2 separate regions of the Homo sapiens genome follow, and region 1 is linked to region 2. Evidence: promoter capture Hi-C in 16 types of primary human blood cells and fetal thymus (Javierre and others, 2016). All regions are on one chromosome and are shown on one strand. The core of a region is centred on a gene start or on the middle of the fragment in contact, and the rest is flanking DNA. Distances in the headings are between cores, read along the strand shown.

Region 1 (5,196 bases), core at 1,964-4,463, 200 kb after region 2:
GGTATTTAAAAAAAAAAATACCCATGTGTGATGAATCCAGTAAAATCACTCCAATCCAGCATTTATGTTTATAGGAGGGAAGAAAACCACAACGCATCTATATTTTATAGCTTAATAGAAAAAGCACAAGTATCTATCCGTTTCAGAAAACAAATGTCATTAATTTATCATTTTCCATAATAATAAATCATTTAGTAAATGAATAATGATATTTGAGTTCTTTAGCTGTTGGAAAGTCCTGTCCCACAGAATTTAGCATTAGTCTGTCAAGTCCACATAACAGGAACAGAATAGTTATCCACTGTCTCAAATTCTCCACTCTACAAAGGAGACGAACTAACATTTTGGTAAATCTTTATAATTCATCAATATATCCACCACACTTTCTTGCAAAAATGTATTCATTTTTCTGCAGTCATAAAGGAAAAGTTTTTCCCAATTTCTGTTCACTGCTAGGCCCTGAAATTCCGTTTGAAATCATCCAATAAAAAAACAGACCTGAGGCTGGGCACGGTGGCTCTCTCCTATAATCCCAGCAGTTTGGGAGGCCAAGGCAGGTGGATCACTTGAGGTCAGGAGTTCGAGACCAGCCTGGCCAATATGGTGAAACCTCGTCTCTACTAAAAATACAAAAGTTTTAGCTGGGCATGGTAGCATACGTCTGTAATCCTAGCTACTCAGGAGGCTGAGGTGGGATGATTGCTTGAACCCAGGAGGTTGAGGCTGCAGTGAGCCAAGATCCCACCACTGCACTCCAGCCTGGGTGACAGAGCGAGACTCCGTCTCAAAAAAAAGTAAATAAAAGTTTTAAAAAGAAATAAAATATAGGACTAAATATGTAATGAGTTTGCTGAAACCCAACTTGTTCTTGTCTCTTTGAACATACTTTATCTTCTTTATTAAGCTCTAATGATAAAATGCATTTTGCAGTTAATAAAAAGCTGAAATGAGTGAACAAATCTTTTCAAGATGACAAATGCAGGGAGGGGCTGACTGGAACACAGACAAATCTGACTACTTTAGTGTCAGTTCAGGTCCTCTTATCACTTGGGACATCTCCCACCCCAGTGCTGCTCACTGAACTGCTGAGTAATTACCCTCCAAGGAGAAGCTCCCTCAATACCGCCAACCAGCTGGCTCATCAGCCATGTGTCCCCAGGGAATGGAAACTGGGGTGGGGAAGAAAAGCTGAATGTCTTAAGGGCTTTGCTTTTTGAGGAACAGTATACCAGGAAACTCCTCCCACCCCACGACATCCAGCTGCTCCCCTATAAGGTCCCACCCCCCACCTCTGGCTGTCCTCTGGGAGGAGTGACTCAAAGCTGATATTCACTAGACACTACAAAAGACTTAGCAGCTATGAGCATCTTGGAGCAGCCCCAAACAGTTCTGTAACCCAGGACCAGGACACCATAGAGGGTGGGCTGACAGATCACCCTGTGCCATTTGCAAAGAGGAACCTCGACTGAAAATATTCGGGTATCTCTGTGTAGACAAGATAAAGGACAGCCACACATGCACTATTTTTTTTTTCTTTTTCTTTTTTCTGAGACGGAGTTTCACTCTTGTTGCCCAGGCTGGAGTGCAATGGCGTGATCTTGGCTCACCGCAACCTCCGCCTACCGGGTTCAAGCAATTCTCCTCCCTCAGCCTCCCAAGTAGCTGGGATTACAGGCATGAGCCACCACCCCGGCTAATTTTGTATTTTTAGTAGAGACGGAGTTCCTCCATGTTGGTCAGGCTGGTCTCGAACTCCCGACCTCAGGTGATCCGCCAGCCTTAGCCTCCCAAAGTGCTGGGATTACAGGCGTGAGCCACCGCGCCCGGCTTTTTTTTTTTTTTTTTTTTTTTCACACTGGAGTCAAGTGGTTATTCTTTGCTTCCTCACATGTGAAATGTTCACAAACACAAAAACACATCTTTTAAAAAGAGCCATACATTGCTATGTGAAAAGAAAGTGACAATTAAAATAATGCCTCTGTTTGAAATATTGCCTGAGGGACAAAGAGTTCATAAAGTTGCTGGGAATTGATGAGAGACAGTTAGCCTGGGGAAGGCTCTGAAAACCAAGAGATTTGCTGCCAGCCCTAGGAGGAGTTAGGATGAGGGGATAGGGTGGTGGATTTGAGACCCTGCTGCCCACATCTTTGGAAGACTCGGAGGGAAACCGGTCACCTTTGGGAAGAAAGAAGGGACTGGGGAACCCACAGATCACAGCTTCTCTTCCAAAGCACAAAGCCCACACACACGAGTCTGGATTCTGCCTGGTGACCCTCCGTTGTCACCGTGCAGCGTCCTCACCGGGTTCACAGGAACTGCGAGCCAGGCTGGAGGCGAGATTGCAGTTAGATATTAACCAGGTGCCCTCAGCCCCGCTGCCTCACGGGGCCGCCTCCCTGAGAGTCAGGTCACAGCAGACGCTGACCGCCGGCTTCCTCATCGTGCCCGGGGATAAGATCTCTTGAGAGTTGCTCACGGGTCGCCTCAGTTCTTTCTCGGATCCTGAATTGCAGCGGAAAGGCTGGCGCCAACCAGGCTGAAGACCCCACAAGGGAACCCACTCAGCAGAATGCGGTTTCTTCACCTCCAGTCCCAGGAGTCACCTCTCACTTCTCCACCAACCAGCGACCCCACACTCCAGCCGTCCCTGTCCACACCTCTAAACACCCCATCCCCAAACCTCTCAGGGAGGCGGATCTGGGGTGTCCTCCCCTCTCCCCCATTAAACTGTTTCTGCTGCAGCCTTCGGCGTCTCGGTGCAGTGACTCGGGCCGTGAACCTGTGCCGGTTACAACTGCACAATCTGGGGAGACGCGGAGCTGCGGGCGCGGAGCTGCCCAGAGAGGGCGCCGGGGCCGGGGCCGCAGCGGCCGAGCAGGGACGGGACAGGACGCCCGGGGTCCCGGCTGCCGCCCCAGCCCCATCTTGCGGCCCAGGGGACCAAGGGCAGAGCTGCGCCAGGGGCACTGGGATTTGCAGACCCCGGAGTCGCCCAGGGCGAGGCCCGGGTCCCCTCACGGTCGGTTCCGGCCGGTTCCAACCTGCCCCTTCTTTGCCTCGGGACGCCGGGCCCCGCACACTCACCATTTCCCAGCTTCCAGGTGTCCGGGTGTCCTCCTTAAAAGCCAGTGTGGGTCCCAGCGCGACAGACGCTGATACAGACCTTCCAGGGCGTCTCTCTCTCAGCGCCAGAGCCAGGACTCAGAGCGCAGGGGCGTGGAGAAGACTCCGCGGGCTCTTTGAACGTCGCACCCTCCTCCCTGCAGCGTGCCTGATTGACAGTTCTCACAATCCCCGCCCCCTCATCCCTGATTGGATAGTGCTCCAGGTCCCGCCCCTTGGTGGCTGATTGACAGAAGAAGCGATCTCACAGTGCTGAGTGGAGCCGGATGAACAGGTTCCAGGCACGACCCTTGGCAAGGCGGGCTTCCTCCCAACGGAGTGACCTGACCCCTCCCGAAGTGACGTTTGCATTTTAGAATTTCCTGATTGTATTCAGTGGGTTCTTCCTGCTTTTTCCTCCTGGACAGGGACTCACAAGTGTGTGCAGGGAATTCCAGGCTCCCTGTCCAGTGGAGCCATTCCCGGACCTCGGAGCAGGAGGGGAGCCCGGGGCACACAGGCCACCCTGCAGCAGGAGGGAGGGCCTGATGTCCTCCAGGGATCAGGAATTTGGGATGAGGCTGTTGGCGACGTTGCCAAGCCTTTCCCTCACCTTATCTCTCAATCTACTCATTTTCAGCCCAGAAGATAAAAACAGGACAACAAAATAAAATAGTTGAGTATGTGGAAAAACTGGAATTATATGGCAGCAATATTTCATAAAGAATCAAAAGAGAAGAAAAGCAAAAACTTGAACAAGCTCAGAGAAGCAGCCTACTGCACTCACAGTTCACAAGCAGACCCCCTTTCAGGAGGTCAAACATATCCCCAAGCTGGGAAGCCAGGCAATGATTCCTAAAATGGAGCTCCGGGGTGGATCAGAAGCTGGTGATAAGGGAGGGACAATTAAGAATTTTACTCTGAGGTCTCAAAATACCTGTCCCCTCTGCACAGCGTGGAAATGCTCCCTCCTTATGCCATTAAATGTTAATGAATTAAACGCTCCAATCAAAAGCCAAGACATCACACTTTGAATTTGAAAACATTAGCCTTTCTCCATATGTTTATGAAGTAAAAATACTAGACTTAAAAGCGTTATGGCCGGGCGCGGTGGCTCACGCCTGTAATCCCAGCACTTTGGGAGGCTGAGGCGGGTGGATCACCTGAGGTCGGGAGTTTGAGACCAGCCTGACAAACATGATGAAACCCCGTTTCTACTAAAAACGCAAAATTAGCCGGGTGTGGTGGCACGCTCCTGTAATCCCGGCTCCTCAGGAAGCTGAGGCAGGAGTATCGCTTGAACCCGGCAGGCAGAGGTTGCAGTGAGCCGACATCACACCACTGCACTCCAGCCTGGGCAACAGAGCGAGGAAAAAAAAAAACTCCATCTCAAAAAAAAAAAAAAAAAAGCGTTATGAACTAGAAGCTGGTAGCCATGGCTAAATAGAAAGGAGCTGAACATGAGATGTCAATAGATGAAATGAAATCTTCAATCAACTTCTAGAAACTATAGCATTTTCTGCCAGGACAAATGGGCACGTTTAGAAAATGAATGAAAAAAATGACGTCTGAGTATAACCTAATGCATAAATGATACTGTTTCCTTAAAAAAAAATAATAAGCACACACACAGACACACACACACACACTCCCACAGTCTATTATGCTAGAAACTGCTCTCTGAAGGATAAACTACTATTTTATGAAATGCTCCACCCCTCACTCCTCACATTAACTGCTCCTGGAACAATGTTCTATTTATTTGTTTCCACACATATTAAAAGAGGGCACAATGTATCAAACTAACTGATTGTCAGGGGTTTATATACAGATTCTGTATATTTTTACAAATGGCAACAAGTAAGTAGTTGATTTCTGCAATGATTTAAATACATATAAAAGCTTCCAGACAAAAATAGCTGTTCGCATTACCATGATGAAGGAAAAATCAACAATGGTGAGACCCACACCCCCTCCCCCAGAGAAAGTATAAAAGAAATCCTAAGAGAAGCTAGAAAGCCCAAAATTTGTATGTGCAAGTTTAAACACAATATAGAAAGTATTGCTGTTAGTTTCCTCACAGTCAGTTCTATG
Region 2 (5,152 bases), core at 72-2,571:
CTGAGGGCGTCATGAGAATTGAATGGATATATGTACAGAGTTGGAACATGGCCTGACATAAGGGCTGTAGTCTGTGGCATATTGCAGCCATGCCATTAGCATGTGACCGATAAACTGCATATCCTCAACATATCATTAGTGTGTGGCAGGTTGCAGACATGTCATCCAAGTGTCACAAACATGGCCTTGCCATGTGGGGCATGATGTGGGCATAGCATCCACCCCTGTGGTCCAGGGGTGAGATCTGGCTGGGTAGGGCTGTTTGACAGGGACACAGTTCACGGCCTGGGACTTGCCAACAAAGTCACCCTGTAGTTCAGGTGACACACAAGTGGATGGGGAGGGTGAGACCCAGGATCTCTTCTCCCCCAGGTCCTTATGAGGGGCTGGAGGAGACAGAACTGGGGTGCTGGACCCTCAGCATAAAGAATGCTATAGGCTGGGCATGGTGACTCATGCCTGTAAATCCCAGCGTTTTGGGAGGCCAAGGCGGGCAGATTGCTTGAGCCCAGAAATTTGAGACCAGCCTGGGCAACATAGCGAGACCCCGGGCAACATAGCGAGACCCCATCTCTAAAAAAATAAAATAAAATTAGCCAGGTTGGTGGCACAAGTCTGCAATTCTAACTACTTGGATGGGCTGAGATGGGAGGATCACTTGAGCCTGGGAGGTCAAGGCTGCAGTGAGCTGTGATTGTGCCACTGCACTCCAGCCGAGGGGACAGAGTGAAACCTTGCCTTAAAAAGACTGCTATGGCCCGAGTCCCTCTGCTGTGCCGGGCACTGTGCTGGGCATGTAACAGGCATATTCTTCTGATCTTTACAACTCTCCCATGAGGCAGGCACTATCGTTAGCCCATTTTACAGATGTGGCCATAGAGGCCCAGAGAGGAGAAGGGGCTTACCTAAGGCTATAGACTGTTGGTATCTGGAGATAAACCCGGGATGGTGCTCACTAAACTACCTTGGGTGTCAGTCCTGCTTCAAGACTCCAGAGAGATAAAGAGAGATGACCTCAGAGACAAAGAGACTCAGACCCAGCCAGAGGCCCAATGGACAGTGGGAGGGGTGGGTGGAAGAAGGCTGGTCTCTGTCTGACCAAGCCCCCCCAGAATAACGCAGGCTGCCCCCCTAGGTGGAAACAATGACACAATCAGCTCCCAATACCAAGGGCCTGACATCACAAGGGGAGGGGAAGGCAGCTGAGGTTGTGGGGGGAGGTGCCCCGCCCCTTGGCAGGCCCCTACAGCCAATGGAACGGCCCTGGAAGAGACCCGGGTCGCCTCCGGAGCTTCAAAAACATGTGAGGAGGGAAGAGTGTGCAGACGGAACTTCAGCCGCTGCCTCTGTTCTCAGCGTCAGTGCCGCCACTGCCCCCGCCAGAGCCCACCGGCCAGCATGTCCTCTGCTCACTTCAACCGAGGCCCTGCCTACGGGCTGTCAGCCGAGGTTAAGAACAAGGTAGGGCTGGAGGGCCTCCCTGGCCTGGCCCACACGTCCTGCCAGGCCAGAGCCCTGAGCTTGGGGTCCCTTGAACCCCCTCCTGCCTATCCTATGTGACTTGGAAACTGAGAGGGGAAAAGGGAGTGATATGGGATAGGGGCTGCCTGTCTCCCCCTGAACATCCCGGAGCCCCCAGCTATGGTTGGGGCTGGAATGGGGGGGCACACAGCCACACATAAACAGAGGGGGTCAGTCCATTGCAAAGATACCCACCTGATCAGTCTTCTGTTAACCCTTCGTGTTCTTGGGGGGAACAACATAGGGGGAAGACTTGTTGATTTTTCCATATCCCCCGGCCTGACAAAGAAATTGGGGAGCGCTTGAGTGCTGGGGTACCTGGGAAGTGACGCCGTGAAAGTGTGGGAGATCCTGAAGACAGAGGGGGACGGTGAAAGGCAGGAAGCGGGCATCAGAAGTGCGGCAGGGGTCTCCTGACTGTGGAGCTAGGAAGATACCTGGACACCACCTTCATGCTATGGTTGGGTAAACTGAGGTTCGGAGAGGAGAGGCAAATAGCTGGGGTCCCAGGTAAAGCAGGTACAGCGCTCGGACCCTGGACTCACCCCCCATACACCAGGATGGGCTCAGCTTCTCCCAGCTGGAGAACTTTAAGTTTCCAGCCCACTGGAATCGCCCCAACAGTATTGCCGAGGGAGGAGTTCCTGCCCCATTTGACAGAGGGGAACACTGAGGCTCAGGGTGGCTTTTCCCAGGGTCCCATGGTGAGGAAGTGGGGGACTGGGTTGGAACCTGGGTCGAGGGATCTCGGGGCTGGAGGAGGGGGCTGGTGGGGGGCGGGTCCTCGGGCGAGAGACAGATCCCAGCGCCGCCCTCCTCCCCCCCAGCGCCGGCCCCAGAGCCGCGCAGAGCCGCGCAGAGACGCCGCGCCTTATAAGGCGGCCTCGGGGAGCCCGGGCCACGCTATATAAGGGCCGGTTTGCTTTATAAAGCCGGGCTGGTGGCGTGGGGGGCGGCAGGGCCAGGGCCAGGTGAGGGGGCCGCCCCTCCCACCTCCCCCCACTCACCCGGGAGAAGAAGAGGCAGCCCGGTCCCCTAGGGGCTGGGAGCCTGGCTGGGCTTGGGCGGAGGGTTCTGGAGAAATGGGAGTGGAGTGGGGGAGGGGGGGGACAGTGGAGAGAGGGAAAAGCAGGGAGGTGGGGGGAGAGGCAGACAGAGATACTGGGAGCCTGAGACACCCTAGGGACAGACGGGGGAGGGCGAGCCAGGAGCGAGATAAGACCTAGACAAGGATGGAGGGGCAGGGAGAGGAGACAGAGCCCCACCACCCCCACCCCAGGCAGGAAACCTGGAGACAGAGAAAGACCTAGAGAGGCAGATATACAAGACCCAGGAGCCCTACCCCTGGCCAGACAGGGACTAGCCACCTAGAGAGATGGGGACCCAAGACTGGGCCAAGAAAAGACAGCGCTGGGGAAGAGAGAGACAGAGGAGTCGGGGGGATAAGAGGGAGAGAGACATACAGACGTGCAAGGGGTGGGGGCTAAGACAGAGACAAGCCCCCACCACTAACCAGAGACAGAGCCCTGGAGCTGAAGACCTGGGGGACACGGAGAGACAGAGATGTATGACCAGCACTCCTCTGCAAGCCAGCACCCAGGGACACCTCCTTAGACATCCTTCTTCCCTTCCTGAGGTGCCCTCTCTTCCAACAGGGGGCACAGAGGGGGCAGGGCTAGAGGAAGAGAAGCCCCAAGTTTGGCCTGGGCGAAAAACCAGGGTGCCGGGTGCCACCCCTCTAGCTCAGAGGATCCAGCTCCCCACACCCCACCCCTCATCTACATTCCCTGGTGCCAAACCTCAGAATGCCCGGAATGGCCCCCTGGGCAGGTGCCACCTCAGCCCTGGCTCTCAGCCCGCCCCAGCCCCCATCCCCCAACTATGGATCTGGGGCAAAATTGCCTTAGTTGGGAAGGACGAGGGAGATCAGGCTCTAGGAAGTTCAGACAGGACCCAGGGAGCCCAGGCTGCCCCCAATGCATCCTCACCCCTTTCTCTGTGCCCCCTGCCCTCCCCTCGCCCCAGCTGGCCCAGAAGTATGACCACCAGCGGGAGCAGGAGCTGAGAGAGTGGATCGAGGGGGTGACAGGCCGTCGCATCGGCAACAACTTCATGGACGGCCTCAAAGATGGCATCATTCTTTGCGAGTGAGTGAGGCTCTCGAAGCCGAGACCCTGCAACATCCCCCAACTCCATGCAGCCCCTCAACCCCCAAAACAACCATGATCCTGGAACTGAGTTGAACACTTTCTATTGGATACCTTTGGGGTGGCCAGTAATCATTGTGCCCATTTAACAGGCACAGAAAACTGAGGCTCAGGTGAAATGCATTGCACCAAGTCCCACGTGGTTTCAAGGGAAATGACTCTAGAATCTTAACCACCATGCTATATAGGGTAGGCCCATCTGTGGCCGCCAGAGTCCCCAGAAAGAGCGGTCACAGCTAAAAGGCAGCAGCCAACAGCTGTTCATGGCTGGCTTGGTGATGTGAGGAGAGATGTGCAGCAATAATTAAAGGAGGCCCTGGTTTTCTTTCTGTTTTCTTTTTGTTTTTTTGAGATACAGTCTTGTTCTGTTGCCCAGGCTGCAGTGCAGAGACACAATCTCGGCTCACTGCAACCTCCGCCTCCAGGGTTTAAGTGATTCTCCTGCCTCAGCCTCCCCAATAGCTGGGATTACAGGCACGCACCACCATGCCTGGCTAATTTTTGTATTTTTTTAAAGTAGAGATGGGGTTTCACCATGTTGGCCAGGATGGTTACGAACTCCTGACCTCAATTGATCCACCTACCTCAGCCTCCCAAAGTGCTGGGATTACAGGCACGTGCCACCATGCCCGGTTAATTTTTGTTTTTTTTTTTTTTTTTTCAGTAGAGATGGAGTTTCACCATGTTGACTAGGCTGGTCTTGAACTCCTGACTTCAAGTGATCCACCTGCCTTGGCCTCCCAAAGTGCTGGGATTGCAGGCACATGCCACCACGCCTGGCTAATTTTTGTATTTTTTTTTTTTTTTTTTAGTAGAGACAGTGTTTCACCATGTTGACCGGGCTGGTCTCAAACTCCTGACCTCAAGTGATCCACCTGCCTCGGCCTCCCAAATTGCTGGGATTACAGGCATGAGCCACCTCGCCCGACCTTCTTCTTCTTCTTCTTTTTTTTGAGATGGAGTCTTCCTCTGTCACCCGGGCTGGAGTGCAGTGACATGATCTCAGCTCACTGCAACCTCTGCTTTCCGGGTTCAAGTGATTCTTGTGTCTCAGCCTCCTGAGCAGCTGGGATTACAGGTGCCCACCACCTTGCCCGGATAACTTTTGTATTTTTAGTAGAGACGGGATTTTGCCATGTTGGCCTGGCTGGTCTCGAACTCCTGACCTCAAGTGATCCACCCGCCTTAGTCTCACAAAGTGCTGGCATTACAGGCATGAACCACTGCACCCTGCCGGCCCTGGTTTTCTCCTCGCCTCAAAACCTCATTGCTGAGGGAGGTGAAAACCCTAACAGCTCCCAAGCCCCAGTTCCACTGCAATCTTTTTTTTTTTTTTCAGATGGAATCTTGCTTTGTGACCCAGGCTGGAGTGCAGTGGCATGATCTTGGCTCACTGCAAGCTCTGCCTCCCAGGTTCAAGCAAT

The links. Contacts are between HindIII fragments. The CHiCAGO score rates a contact against its expected background, and 5 or more counts as called.
Region 1: a contact is called between the fragment with the promoter of ZNF823 here and the fragment with the promoter of CNN1 in region 2, in 11 of 17 cell types (total B cells, erythroblasts, non-activated CD4 T cells and 8 more). The highest score is 13.5, in total B cells.

What each region holds. Positions count from the first base shown.
Region 1 is chr19:11,735,733-11,740,928 of GRCh38, forward strand. It overlaps ZNF823 (zinc finger protein 823), which reads right to left and starts at 3,214. Exons shown (of 4, transcript NM_001080493.4): 1 at 3,085-3,214. The coding sequence starts at 3,087. RefSeq lists enhancers at 2,588-2,717, 3,108-3,187 and silencers at 2,788-2,937, 3,198-3,392. The HindIII fragment of the contact is 8,001 bases long and covers 1-5,002 here.
Region 2 is chr19:11,537,530-11,542,681 of GRCh38, forward strand. CNN1 (calponin 1) reads left to right here and starts at 1,322. Exons shown (of 7, transcript NM_001299.6): 1 at 1,322-1,461; 2 at 3,547-3,668. The coding sequence starts at 1,399. RefSeq lists enhancers at 293-1,238, 4,012-4,131 and a silencer at 2,298-2,347. The HindIII fragment of the contact is 23,519 bases long and covers 1-5,152 here.